4 separate regions of the Homo sapiens genome follow, and all the other regions are linked to region 2. Evidence: promoter capture Hi-C in 16 types of primary human blood cells and fetal thymus (Javierre and others, 2016). All regions are on one chromosome and are shown on one strand. The core of a region is centred on a gene start or on the middle of the fragment in contact, and the rest is flanking DNA. Distances in the headings are between cores, read along the strand shown. Region 1 overlaps FAM13A (family with sequence similarity 13 member A). Region 2 holds the start of PIGY (phosphatidylinositol glycan anchor biosynthesis class Y). Region 3 overlaps PPM1K-DT (PPM1K divergent transcript). Region 4 overlaps HERC3 (HECT and RLD domain containing E3 ubiquitin protein ligase 3).

Region 1 (2,700 bases), core at 5-2,504, 220 kb before region 2:
ACTCTCAGCTATTCAGAGTGACCACTTCCCCAGGTCTTCACATGGTCTCAGTCACAGGGCAACCCGATCAGCTAAGAGGCGAATTCTGCAGCATTTCTTCATTTCCCTGGATCACTAATAGAAGGATGATGGTTTCAAGTCAGCATCTCTCAACACCTGTTTAATCCAAGTCTCCATTTGCTGTGGTGGTAGAAGCAAACAAGTAGACACAGAGATGAATCTGCAAAGGGTATGGCCTCCATCCCTCAAAGAGATTCCCATCTTTTCAGAGACACAGTCATGTAAACAACTAAATAGAATACAAAGTGAACCTAATTTCAGAATAAGGTGTGTAAGTCATACAGAAAAGGTTGGCCAGTGGCTGGGCATTAGATCACTAAATACCTTTAACCACTGAAGGAGCAAGGATGCCACATTCTGAGAGCATCATACAGGCTGATGTGGCTAAAGCTTTCTCAGCAATTAGTGTTAGGGAAACATTCCATGTAATCAAAGAAAATGTTACCATTCTCTCAGGTTTTACATAATAATTCAGGGATTTCTACTGATACTGTAACTAGATACTCTCTGAAAAAAGAATAAGTTATTGATACTACAGAAAAACAATTTGTGTTGGGCAGACATCAAATCTCATATATCAGGCCGGGCGCAGTGGCTCACGCCTGTAATCCCAGCACTTTGGGAGGCCGAGGCAGGAGGATCATGAGGTCAGGAGATCGAGACCATCCTGGCTAACATGGTGAAACCCCGTCTCTACTAAAAATACCAAAAAAAATTAGCCGGGCGTGGTGGCGGGCACCTGTAGTCCCAGCTACTCAGGAGACTGAGGCAGGAGAATGGCGTGAACCCAGGAGGCGGAGCTTGCAGTGAGCCGAGATCGTGCCACTGCACTCCAACCTGGGCGACAGAGCGAGACTCCATCTCAAAATAAATAAATAAATAAATCTCATATATCTTTACCCCCAAATCTTCTCAACTAGAATCAAAACTAAAGATATCTGAAGAGGACCTAACTCCCAGGATGCGGCAGCGAAGCAACACACTCCCCAAGAGTTTTGGTTCCCAACTTGAGAAAGAAGATGAGAAGAAGCAAGAGCTGGTGGATAAAGCAATAAAGCCCAGTGTTGAAGCCACATTGGAATCTATTCAGAGGAAGCTCCAGGAGAAGCGAGCGGAAAGCAGCCGCCCTGAGGACATTAAGGTGCGATCATTCTGTGAAGTGCTAAGCCCTAAGCCATTGCAGTCAATGTGGTAGAGACACAGGGCATGCCACGTGAATCCCAGTGGGAAGATGATGCCTTGTTAAGCCTTCCAGGCTGTTACGTGTCTAGGGAAGCTGATGAAACAGCTGCAGAGTGCGTTAACTGTGGGTGCTTTGGTTTTTGACTACAGATTGAAAACAAAACTCTATTGTATAGATTACAGAATGAACTTGTTTAGGTTAATAGCTGGTTTTGTGACTCTGAGGTAGAAGGATTAGAGACAAACCTTTGGGACCATGTAACGTATAACCGTCGTCATTGCTTGGGCCATTAAGCTAAGCCCCATGTGCCTCACAGCCCTGCTTACCTCAGTGTTCACCTTACCTTTGCTGCCGTGAGGGAGATCCAGGTGGCTGATGATGATTCTGCTGTGCTGGCCACGTTTCTCCCAAGAGCTCAGGAGTAACCCATTTTTAAATGAACTTTGGATAGAGCTAGGGAGAGCTGTTATATGAGGGTTCTTTTTAGCCTTGCTTTAGTAATTTAAGTAAAGAAGTTGGAATGTTCACACACATTTTCCTCTCTTTCAATTCTCTATCCCTGTGTTTATACAGGATATGACCAAAGACCAGATTGCTAATGAGAAAGTGGCTCTGCAGAAAGCTCTGTTATATTATGAAAGCATTCATGGACGGCCGGTATGTGATGTAGTAAATTTTCTGATTGGGGTCAATTATCTGGCTTTAGAAATGGATTTTCTATGTTCAGTATTTTACAAATGGGGTTCCCTAATGTTTGCTTGCTTTACTTTTAGGATAAAGGAGGTTAGTATATATTTACACCATAACTAAGCTTTCTGAAGGCTTAACCAATAAGAAAGTTCTATCTAGTAGATGTGGAACTTACTTGGGTTCCAATGAAAAATTGGTTTGCAACTAAAATTTAGTCATTAATGTACCGCTTTAAAGGAAGGAATGGTGGAGGGGCCAGGGGTCGGAGGGGCAGAGTATAGGGCATAAAGACCCCTGGAGTTTGGAGACTTCCCTGTCCCTAGGTCTCCCCCAATAAGCTGTCACTGTAGGCTTCCTCATCCATAAAATGAAAGGTGTGAAACTAGAATGATCTGCCTTAGAATTCAATCTCTCTGCAATGCAGTGCAACTAGTGTTTGTAAAGAAGTTCCAGCTGCCGTTCAGAACCAGAAGCGTGAGGAATCCAAAATATGGCTTTGCCTTTTCATAACAACGGGAAGCATTTGAGGTGGCTTGCCGTTCAGCAAGCATTGCTTAAATGTTTGTTGTTAGCTGTGGGGGAAACGGTAGCATGATAGGCTTCTGCTCTCTTCCCTGAAGAACTTTTCATCAGACACCCTTCTTGTCAGTCACTCTTAATAACCTTTTGTTCATAATGTTGTCAGAGACCTAACAAAACAAATTTTTAAAAGCAGGTATAAGGAAGCACGAAGTTTAGGTTCACTGATTATTTTTATATAGCCAAAA
Region 2 (2,700 bases), core at 183-2,682:
TGACTGTGAAAGATTGCTTTGTGAGGGAAGGAAGGTGAGGCAACCAGAGACTTTCATTATCTCTTAAATATCTATCCAGTAGAAGTGTTTCCTTTTTGGTATCCTATAAACTACATTAACCTTAGAAAATCTTCTGAGCATTAGTGAACAAAGAACATCAAAAAATAAACTGTTTTTTTTAAAAAAAACAGGATGGCCCAAAAAACAAACAAAAAATTAGGATGAACATATAAACATTTGTCAGTTTATTTTTACATTGGAGTGGAAGAGAAATTTGAAAATATAAACATATTTTTGGATTCTGTACTTCCAGCTCCAGGAACTCAAAGTGTGAAATGATAATGCCCAGTGATGCAAAAAAAAAGTTCAGGTTGATATTCAGCAGAACGGAGGGAAAAAATGGATGACTAATGAGAATCTTTGAGTCTTCGGACATGGAAAAACTAGATGAACTAAAAATAAAAATAGACAACATTAATGGAGCATTAATTTGTGCCAGGCACTTTTCTAAATGTTCTTCGAATGCACAATCACATTTATGCCCTACCTACAAGGTAGGTACAATTATTAGTCTTATACAGATAAGGAAAATGAGCAGTTAAGTCATTTGCCAAAGTCATCCAGCTACTAATTGTGGACAGGGAACCAAGCTGTCAGGCCCCAGAGCCCAAGTTCCCATCTACTACACTGTAAGAAAGAGATCTAACATGGTCACTTTCTTGGAGAGTGGGAAGCAAACCTGGGATACAAATTCACTGAATGGATCACCCACTCATTGAATGGATCTTTAACAGGCAGATCACATCTGCCTGTTACACAGCTATTTAGGCCCCTTGCGGCCTCCAAGCTCATTTATAGAAGTAAATTAGCTGTGCTTTATTACGCAAATACTTCACAATGACTGGGTCTCAGGCAGGAAGAATTTATATATTTTGGAGGGTCAGAGGCCTAGGCCCTTCCTTCCAGGTTCTCACTTTTTTTAATGAGAGAGAAAAAAGCCAAACAAGGTTACAGAAACTAATGGTATAGTAAAGATGTACATGAAACAAATGAGCGCTTTCAATACATCCATGACAATACATTCGGTACAATACATAACAGTGTGTTTGAAACTTCACTTGGAGGTAACCACGTAGGTCCAAGCCTAACTCCCTACAACTCTGAGGCCTGGCCACTGGCTTCCTAGCATCCTTGGACAGGCCCCGGTGAAAACCCAGACACCTTGACTTAAACACTGGTTTAGTTTGTAGTCTGGTAAGGCGGCGGGGCACTCACCAGAGGCCTCTGCCCTGGGGCTGTCCTCCGGACTATAGATGACGCCCGTGGGAAAAGCAGTCGGAGCAGAAGCACCCTCGGAACCAAAGCGCCCGCCCCGCCTACTCCTCGGCAGCGTTTCCTGGAGGACCAGGGGGCGGGGCCTGCCCGGCTGGCCTGGACGAACGGGAAGCCGGGAGCTCGGCCACGGGTGGCGAGGCTGCGGTGAGGCCTGGTCTCCGGCTGCCAGACCATGCTGAGTGGAGCACGCTGCAGGCTCGCCTCAGCGCTGCGGGGAACGCGCGCGCCGCCGTCCGCGGTCGCCCGTAGGTGCCTGCACGCGTCGGGGTCGCGGCCTTTGGCCGACCGGGGCAAGAAGACTGAGGAGCCGCCCCGCGACTTCGATCCGGCGCTGCTGGAGTTCCTGGTGTGCCCGCTCTCCAAGAAGCCGCTCAGGTAACTCGCTGGCCTTGGCCCTTCCTTTGCAGCCTCCCGGTGGGCGGAAAGGGAGCGGTGGACCGCGGCCTCTTGCAGCCACTGGGGCCTTGTAGGTCGGTCAGGTACTCTCCGCTGCCACATTCTGGACTCTGTCCTCGCCGGGCGCACAGCGGGCAGGACGGGGGAGACCGGAGGCCAGGGGAGCTGCGTCCCACATCTCCCAGAACGCAACGCCAGCCTGCGGGAATGGCTCGAAGCGTTTTAGGGTTCGCGACCGGCTGCGCATTGCAATCACCCGGGGACCGTTTTAAAAATGCCGATTCCCCGACAGCCCCCAAGACGGGCAGACTTGGAATGCTCGCGGGATGGGACCTGAACATTTGTATTTTCTTTTCCTTTTTTTTTTTCCTTTTAAGAGACAGGGTGCCCCCTACGTTGCCCAGACTGGCCTAGAACTCCCGCCTCAGCCTCCTCAGGAGTCGAGAGACAGGCGCCGCCCCCACGCCCAGCTTATCTGTGTTCTTAAACGGTCCCTAAATGATTTCTAATGTACCACCAGGTTTATGAACCACTGCGATTCAGGACAAGTCCGAAGCCTTCCGGTTTTTAAGCCAAGATAATGAAAAGTATTGTTGTACCCTCCAGATTCTTGTGAAAGTGTCTTGTACAACTGGTGCCTGACAATCTTAAGCAATTCAGCTGTGTTTGCTGCCCAGTGGCTCTTAGTTGTGGCCTAGCAGGTTTCGTAGAAGCCTCTTTAACTAGTTTTTGGGAAGACAGCTCTACAGTTTCCAAGCTACCAAAATTGAATATTGACAACACTAACGCTAGTATTACAAATCGCATAAACACCAAAATGTTATCAGTGGTTATCTTTGAATGGTAGATTGCTAGCAATTTTTCGTATTTCTTTTTCCCGTAATAAACATATTATTCAATTTTCTCGAACCTTGAAATTATCATTTGATTTACGTTTATAACTAGCTCACTGCAGACTTAGTGCTTTCG
Region 3 (2,700 bases), core at 179-2,678, 240 kb after region 2:
ATCAAAGGTTTGTTTCTTGTTCATGTTCCATGGCTATCATAGGCTTGCAGTGGAATTCTCTTCCTTGGAGTCATTCAGGGAGCAGCCATTCTCTGGAACATTGCTGGTTGCAATGGCAGAGGTGAGTGAACCTTGGAGGGTCTTGCACAGGGATACGAAATGCTCACTCAAAAATTACCCCATCACCTCCACTCACAATTCATTGACCAGGACAAGTCACAGATGCCTGCCTTCGCCTGGCACTACTGGCTTGGGTGATGAAGAACAGTAAACATTTAGCAAACAATGCTAATAATGACTATCATATTTCGCTTCCTTGATTTTGAGCATTTTGTGATTTAAATAAAACACAATTTTGTATAACCTTTCTTACAAAATACATTTACAAAATATGATTGTTCTCACAACAGCTCTGATGGGAAACATGCAATTAAAGGCTTGAATAAGGGTCAAATAGAATGAATAATAGTCAAATAATCGGAGGTGGAAATGGAAAGACATTTCAAATCTCTGTAGCATTGGTACTGGTCGAAGTTTTTTTTTTTTTTTTTTGAGGCAGAATCTTGCTCTTTTGTTCAGGCTGGAGCGCAGTGGCATGATCTTGGCTCGCTGCAACCTCTGCCTCCCAGGTTCAAGTGATTCTCCTGCCTCATCCTCCCGAGTAGCTGGGATTACAGGTGCACGCCACCACACCCAGCTAATTTTTGTATTTTTAGTAGAGACGGCATTTTGCCATGTTGGTCAGGCTGGTCTCGAACTCCTGACCTCAAATGATCCACCCTTCTCGGCCTCCCAGAGTGCTGGGATTACAGACATGAGCCACTGCGCCTGGCCTGAAGCTTATTTATTCCAAATTTTTAGAGGTAAATTATACAGGGTGGGGGAAGCAACAATCATATTTTAAAATAAAATCATTGCTGCAAGTTTAATTGCATCCAAGGACAAGATTTCAAATTCTCTCTCTCTCTTTTCTTTTCTTTTTTTTTTTTAAAGAGACAAGGTCTTGCTTTGTTGCCCAGGCTGGAGTGCAGTGGCATGTTCATAGCTCACTGCAACCCCAAACGCCTGGGATCAAGTAATCCTTCCACCTCAGCCTCTCAAGTAGTTGGGACTACAGGCATACATCACCATGTCTGGCTAATCTTTTTTTTTTTTTTTGTAGAACAGGGGTCTCACTATCTTGCCCAGGCTGGTCTCGAATTCCTGGCCTCAAGCTGTCTTCCTGCCTTGGCCTCCAAAAGTGGTGGGATTACAGGGATGAGCCACTGCAACAGACCTAAAAATTCTCTATGTCAGTGTTTTGGCAATTATCTTGGTAACACAGAGAAGGGACATCTGGGCTAGCAATTCAGGACAGAGCAGCCTGAACTGTGGAAAAAATACATCCTAGTATCCCAGGCCCATGTTTTAGGCATGAGGCCAAGAGTAGCCTACAGATACTTTTCTAGAAAACTGCTGATTCTGAGTATACAAAAATGTCCATATCTAATTTTAACAACAAATGATTCATTAGTGAATATTAATAATTCTGCAATTATACATACCACCCACCCACCCAAAGCCCTGTGAATTGTTTTGGGTGTAATTTTCTGATAGCCAGTGGTTTTCAGCAGATGGTCCAATTCTTTAAAATATAAACTGAGCTGGGCACAATGGTGCATGCCTGTAGTCCTAGCTACTCCAGTGAGGCGGGAGAATCATTTGAGCCCAGGAATTCAAGGCTATAGTGCACTATTATCACATTTGTGAATAGTCCCTGCAATCCAGCCTGGGAAACACAGGGAGACCCTGTCTCTAAAAAAAAATAAGTAAATAAAATAAAATATAAACTGAATAAAGAAGTAGCTCAACTTAATGAATGTACGGAGTGCCATATCCCCTTGATTATTTTGTACATTGTGCAGTGATCTGTCATGCCAAGTCAGCCTCTGTGGTGAATTCTTTTCCATTTTTTAATTTTTTGTCAAATACCAAATAATGATTTCCTTTACACATTATTCACATTTTAAAAGCTTTTATTTTAGGTTCTGGGGTACATGAACAGGTTTCTTATACAGATAAACTGCATTTCATGGGGGTTTGGTGTACCAATAATTGTGCATTTTATTTTATTTTTTTGAGACGGAGTCTTGCTCTGTCGCCCAGGCTGGAGTGCAGTGGCGCGATCTCGGCTCACTGCAAGCTCCGCCTCCCGGGTTCACGCCATTCTCCTGCCTCAGCCTCCCAAGTAGCTGGGACTACAGGCGCCCGCCACCACGCCGGCTAATTTTTTGTATTTTTAGTGGAGACGGGGTTTCACCGTGTTAGCCAGGATGGTCTTGATCTCCTAACCTTGTGATCCACCCGCCTCGGCCTCCCAAAGTGCTGTCACCTAGGCTAGAGTACAGTGGTGAGATCATGGTTCACTGCAGCCTGGACCTCCTGGGCTCAGGTGATCCTCCCACCTCAGCCTCCCGAGTAGCTGGGATCACAGGTATGCGCCACCATGCCTGGCTCATTTTTGTATTTTTTTGTAGAGACCATGGTTTTGACATGTTGCTCAGGCTAGTCTTGAACTCCCAGCTCAAGTGATTGGCAGCCTTGGCCTCTCAAAGTGCTGGGATTACAGGCATGAACCACTGTGCTGGCCATGAATTATTTTTGTGGTGTATTTAGCTATGCTTCAGAGATTCAAAACCCAGAAGCATATAATTCAAAAGA
Region 4 (2,700 bases), core at 84-2,583, 150 kb before region 2:
GATCAGGTATGAAATCCTGCATATATAATCCAGACCAATCTTACTCACTCTCATGCCTACATATCCAATTACTTTGAAGTTAGAAATCAAGATGACTAAAAACAAAAAAACAAAACCACACCATAAAACAGCACTATACAAAGCTAAGTCATCTTCTAGTCTAGGTACCTACAAAAGATATAAGCATCCTGGGAAAGAAAGTAGGCTTAAAACTGGTGCCAATATTCAGAATTTCCTAATCTGTCTCTCAGAAGAGATTAGTTTATGCAAAGCATTATCTGCCTATTCTCAAGGGAAAAGAAAGATCTTGAATGTGTGTTGGTCTATAAAGCAAGATAAAGTTTTAGATATTTCAAATATAAAAGTGACTGTGGAAGAAGTGATAATAAAAACAGTTCTGGCATTACAGAGTCCGAGCCTACTTAGTATTTTTAAGTACATACTGACATTTTAGTTGGTGTAATGCAGTTATTTCAGACATCAATCAGCAGTTTTGTCTGTATTCCTTGGCTCTTTCCAGTCCCACTCCTGTTCTCTGACTCTCTCCCCCCACCCTCTTCCTGTAACCCCCACCTTGAGCCTCCCTGCACCCCTTAAATACCCAGCTTCGGCAGCTTGTAGTCCCTCTAAGCATCCCTCACCTGACCCCTTCCCACACCCCAGAGGTGAAGGAACCCAGATTTGGAAGCGGGCTGATCTTTCTACTGGAGAAGGGGAGGAGTTAAATTGAGGGCAGGGTCACCATTCTCTCTGTTGAGTGGGATGGCTGGGAAGAAATCCAAAACTGCCTCAGTTAGGAGCCACAGCCAAAGCCAGAGAGACACTGCCCAGAGCTGGTGGTCTAGAGAAGTCTCAGGTGAGCCAGCAAGGCAGGCAGGAAGATATGGAAGCCTTACAAAACAGAAGTGCCAACTCTAAGGAAGGCAAAGGATGGAGCGATATTCAGTCAAAAGAAGCCGCGAATCTGTAGCAAAGGTCTGCTTATACATCCACAGACTTTTTGTAAGTCTGTAAGTTTTTGTATTTGATATATAATAATTTAATTTCATTAATTTTTATTCTGTGAATACTGAATATTTTAGAAATTGTACTCACACTGGTATTTCCATATTATACAAAATAAATCTGCATGATTTTGTGCCACTATTGCTATTCATAACCTAGAAGGATGCATACGAACTGATAAGATACATGATTATCTCCTGAGAGGCTACTTGTCTTGGACTATCCATTCCTCAAAAATGAGTATCACAGACTTAAAACTAGTAAAGTACTAGTGGACCATATTTCAAGTCTCCCTGCCTGAAACGGGGCTGCACTGTGACCTAAGCTCATTTTTAAAGTATATGAAATAGAAGCAATGAATAAGTAAATGGGATAGAACAGAAAAATTGGGAATATCATTTTTTTTTAAATACGAAGTCAACATCTCCTAAATGTGGCTGCAAGTGGGGCAGGAGGCACTACACGCACACCTGCAGTGCTGGAGAAGAAATACAGCCTCCTCTGCCTTAGTGCCTGTCTTGTCTCACACGTGCACAATACTCATAACTGGGGACAAAACACTGCCTGGCTGCGTCTCCTTTAACACATACAGCAAGATGTCGAGCTTTATCTAGCTTTTATTTTTTAAGTATTTACACTGTGGCACTGACTTTCCCCACTTGTGCTGCCCTCTAGAGGAGCCCACCACTCATTCACTCTGTGCTATTTGGTTTTTAAGTGCAGATAATGGCAAGTTACTGATTGAAGTAAAGGAACCACTACCACCTCTTCTTTAAAAGGAGTAAAAATCAGCCACTTTAGAATGTTCCTTCTGCACACATGTGTTAGATCCCTTTGCAATTTTTCACTGCTGCTTCTGGGCTAAACACTCTGCAAAGGTAGACACCATATCCATACATGTTTCCACTGTGACTAGCAGGCAGATGGCACACATTAGGTACTCAAGAACTGCTTCGTGAAAAATATTTATTGAGGGCTTATTATATGCTAAGTACTCTGCTAAGCAAGGTCTTTCCATGCTTTCTCCCATTTAATTTCCACAATCTGTTATAATTCTTACTCACAAAAGAGGATGCTGGGCCTATAGAAATTAGGTAACTTGTCTAAGGCCATGGCCATTAGACCAGAGTAAGGAACTGAACCCAGGTCTTTTTGACTGGAGCATGTGCTCAATAATATACTACACAGCCTCAGCTATTAACAAGCTAAAAATGCCAACACACATCAAAAAAATCCATCTATTATTTAAAAGTAGTTAAACAAAAATAACATATGAAATAGCTTTAGTATTTTAAATTAAACTTCAAAATATCAAGACATTTAAAATTCAATTTCTAATAGCATTGTACCTCATACAATAAAAAAAATTCCACAAAAATCACAAAAGGCCATATACTAATTTCATGTAATTTTCCATATTTCTTTAATAACTATTATAGTTATTGAAGAGATGAGCATCTGTTATTCAAGATCTGATAAGATATTTATCAAATGTTAAAAGAAAGGAAGTTTAAAATATTGTAAAAGTTACTTAAATATCTCTACTCAGAGACTACTGTCATAATAATCTAGATTTTAACATGAGCAACTTCTTTTTCAGAGTAAAAAAGAATTACAATTTGTTAGACTTATTTTATTCAGCATCAAGTCACAGAAAGGGTAGATTAGAAATCAGAAGAATTGACTTTTACTGCT

The links. Contacts are between HindIII fragments. The CHiCAGO score rates a contact against its expected background, and 5 or more counts as called.
Region 1: a fragment that was not itself captured here is called in contact with the fragment with the promoter of PIGY in region 2 in 1 of 17 cell types (non-activated CD4 T cells); the score reaches 5.1 in non-activated CD4 T cells.
Region 3: a contact is called between a fragment that was not itself captured here and the fragment with the promoter of PIGY in region 2, in 3 of 17 cell types (total CD8 T cells, naive CD4 T cells and activated CD4 T cells). The highest score is 5.4, in total CD8 T cells.
Region 4: a contact is called between a fragment that was not itself captured here and the fragment with the promoter of PIGY in region 2, in 1 of 17 cell types (naive CD4 T cells). The highest score is 5.9, in naive CD4 T cells.

What each region holds. Positions count from the first base shown.
Region 1 is chr4:88,746,132-88,748,831 of GRCh38, reverse strand. FAM13A (family with sequence similarity 13 member A) reads left to right here. Exons shown (of 24, transcript NM_014883.4): 18 at 981-1,201; 19 at 1,817-1,900. Among named protein-coding and RNA genes, the nearest start is that of FAM13A-AS1, 38 kb to the right of the region's middle. The HindIII fragment of the contact is 1,604 bases long and covers 453-2,056 here.
Region 2 is chr4:88,522,508-88,525,207 of GRCh38, reverse strand. PIGY (phosphatidylinositol glycan anchor biosynthesis class Y) reads left to right here and starts at 1,432. Exons shown (of 2, transcript NM_001042616.3): 1 at 1,432-1,710. PYURF (PIGY upstream open reading frame) reads left to right here and starts at 1,432. Exons shown (of 2, transcript NM_032906.5): 1 at 1,432-1,710. The coding sequence starts at 1,508. PIGY-DT (PIGY divergent transcript) reads right to left here and starts at 1,398. Exons shown (of 2, transcript NR_134663.1): 1 at 1,276-1,398; 2 at 217-443. It also overlaps a transcript of HERC3 not described here. RefSeq lists an enhancer at 2,075-2,134. The HindIII fragment of the contact is 19,176 bases long and covers 1-2,700 here.
Region 3 is chr4:88,287,253-88,289,952 of GRCh38, reverse strand. The region is part of intron 1 of PPM1K-DT (PPM1K divergent transcript); the gene reads right to left. Among named protein-coding and RNA genes, the nearest start is that of PPM1K-DT, 3.7 kb to the right of the region's middle. The HindIII fragment of the contact is 1,173 bases long and covers 842-2,014 here.
Region 4 is chr4:88,672,098-88,674,797 of GRCh38, reverse strand. The region is part of intron 16 of HERC3 (HECT and RLD domain containing E3 ubiquitin protein ligase 3); the gene reads right to left. Among named protein-coding and RNA genes, the nearest start is that of NAP1L5, 24 kb to the left of the region's middle. The HindIII fragment of the contact is 6,373 bases long and covers 1-2,700 here.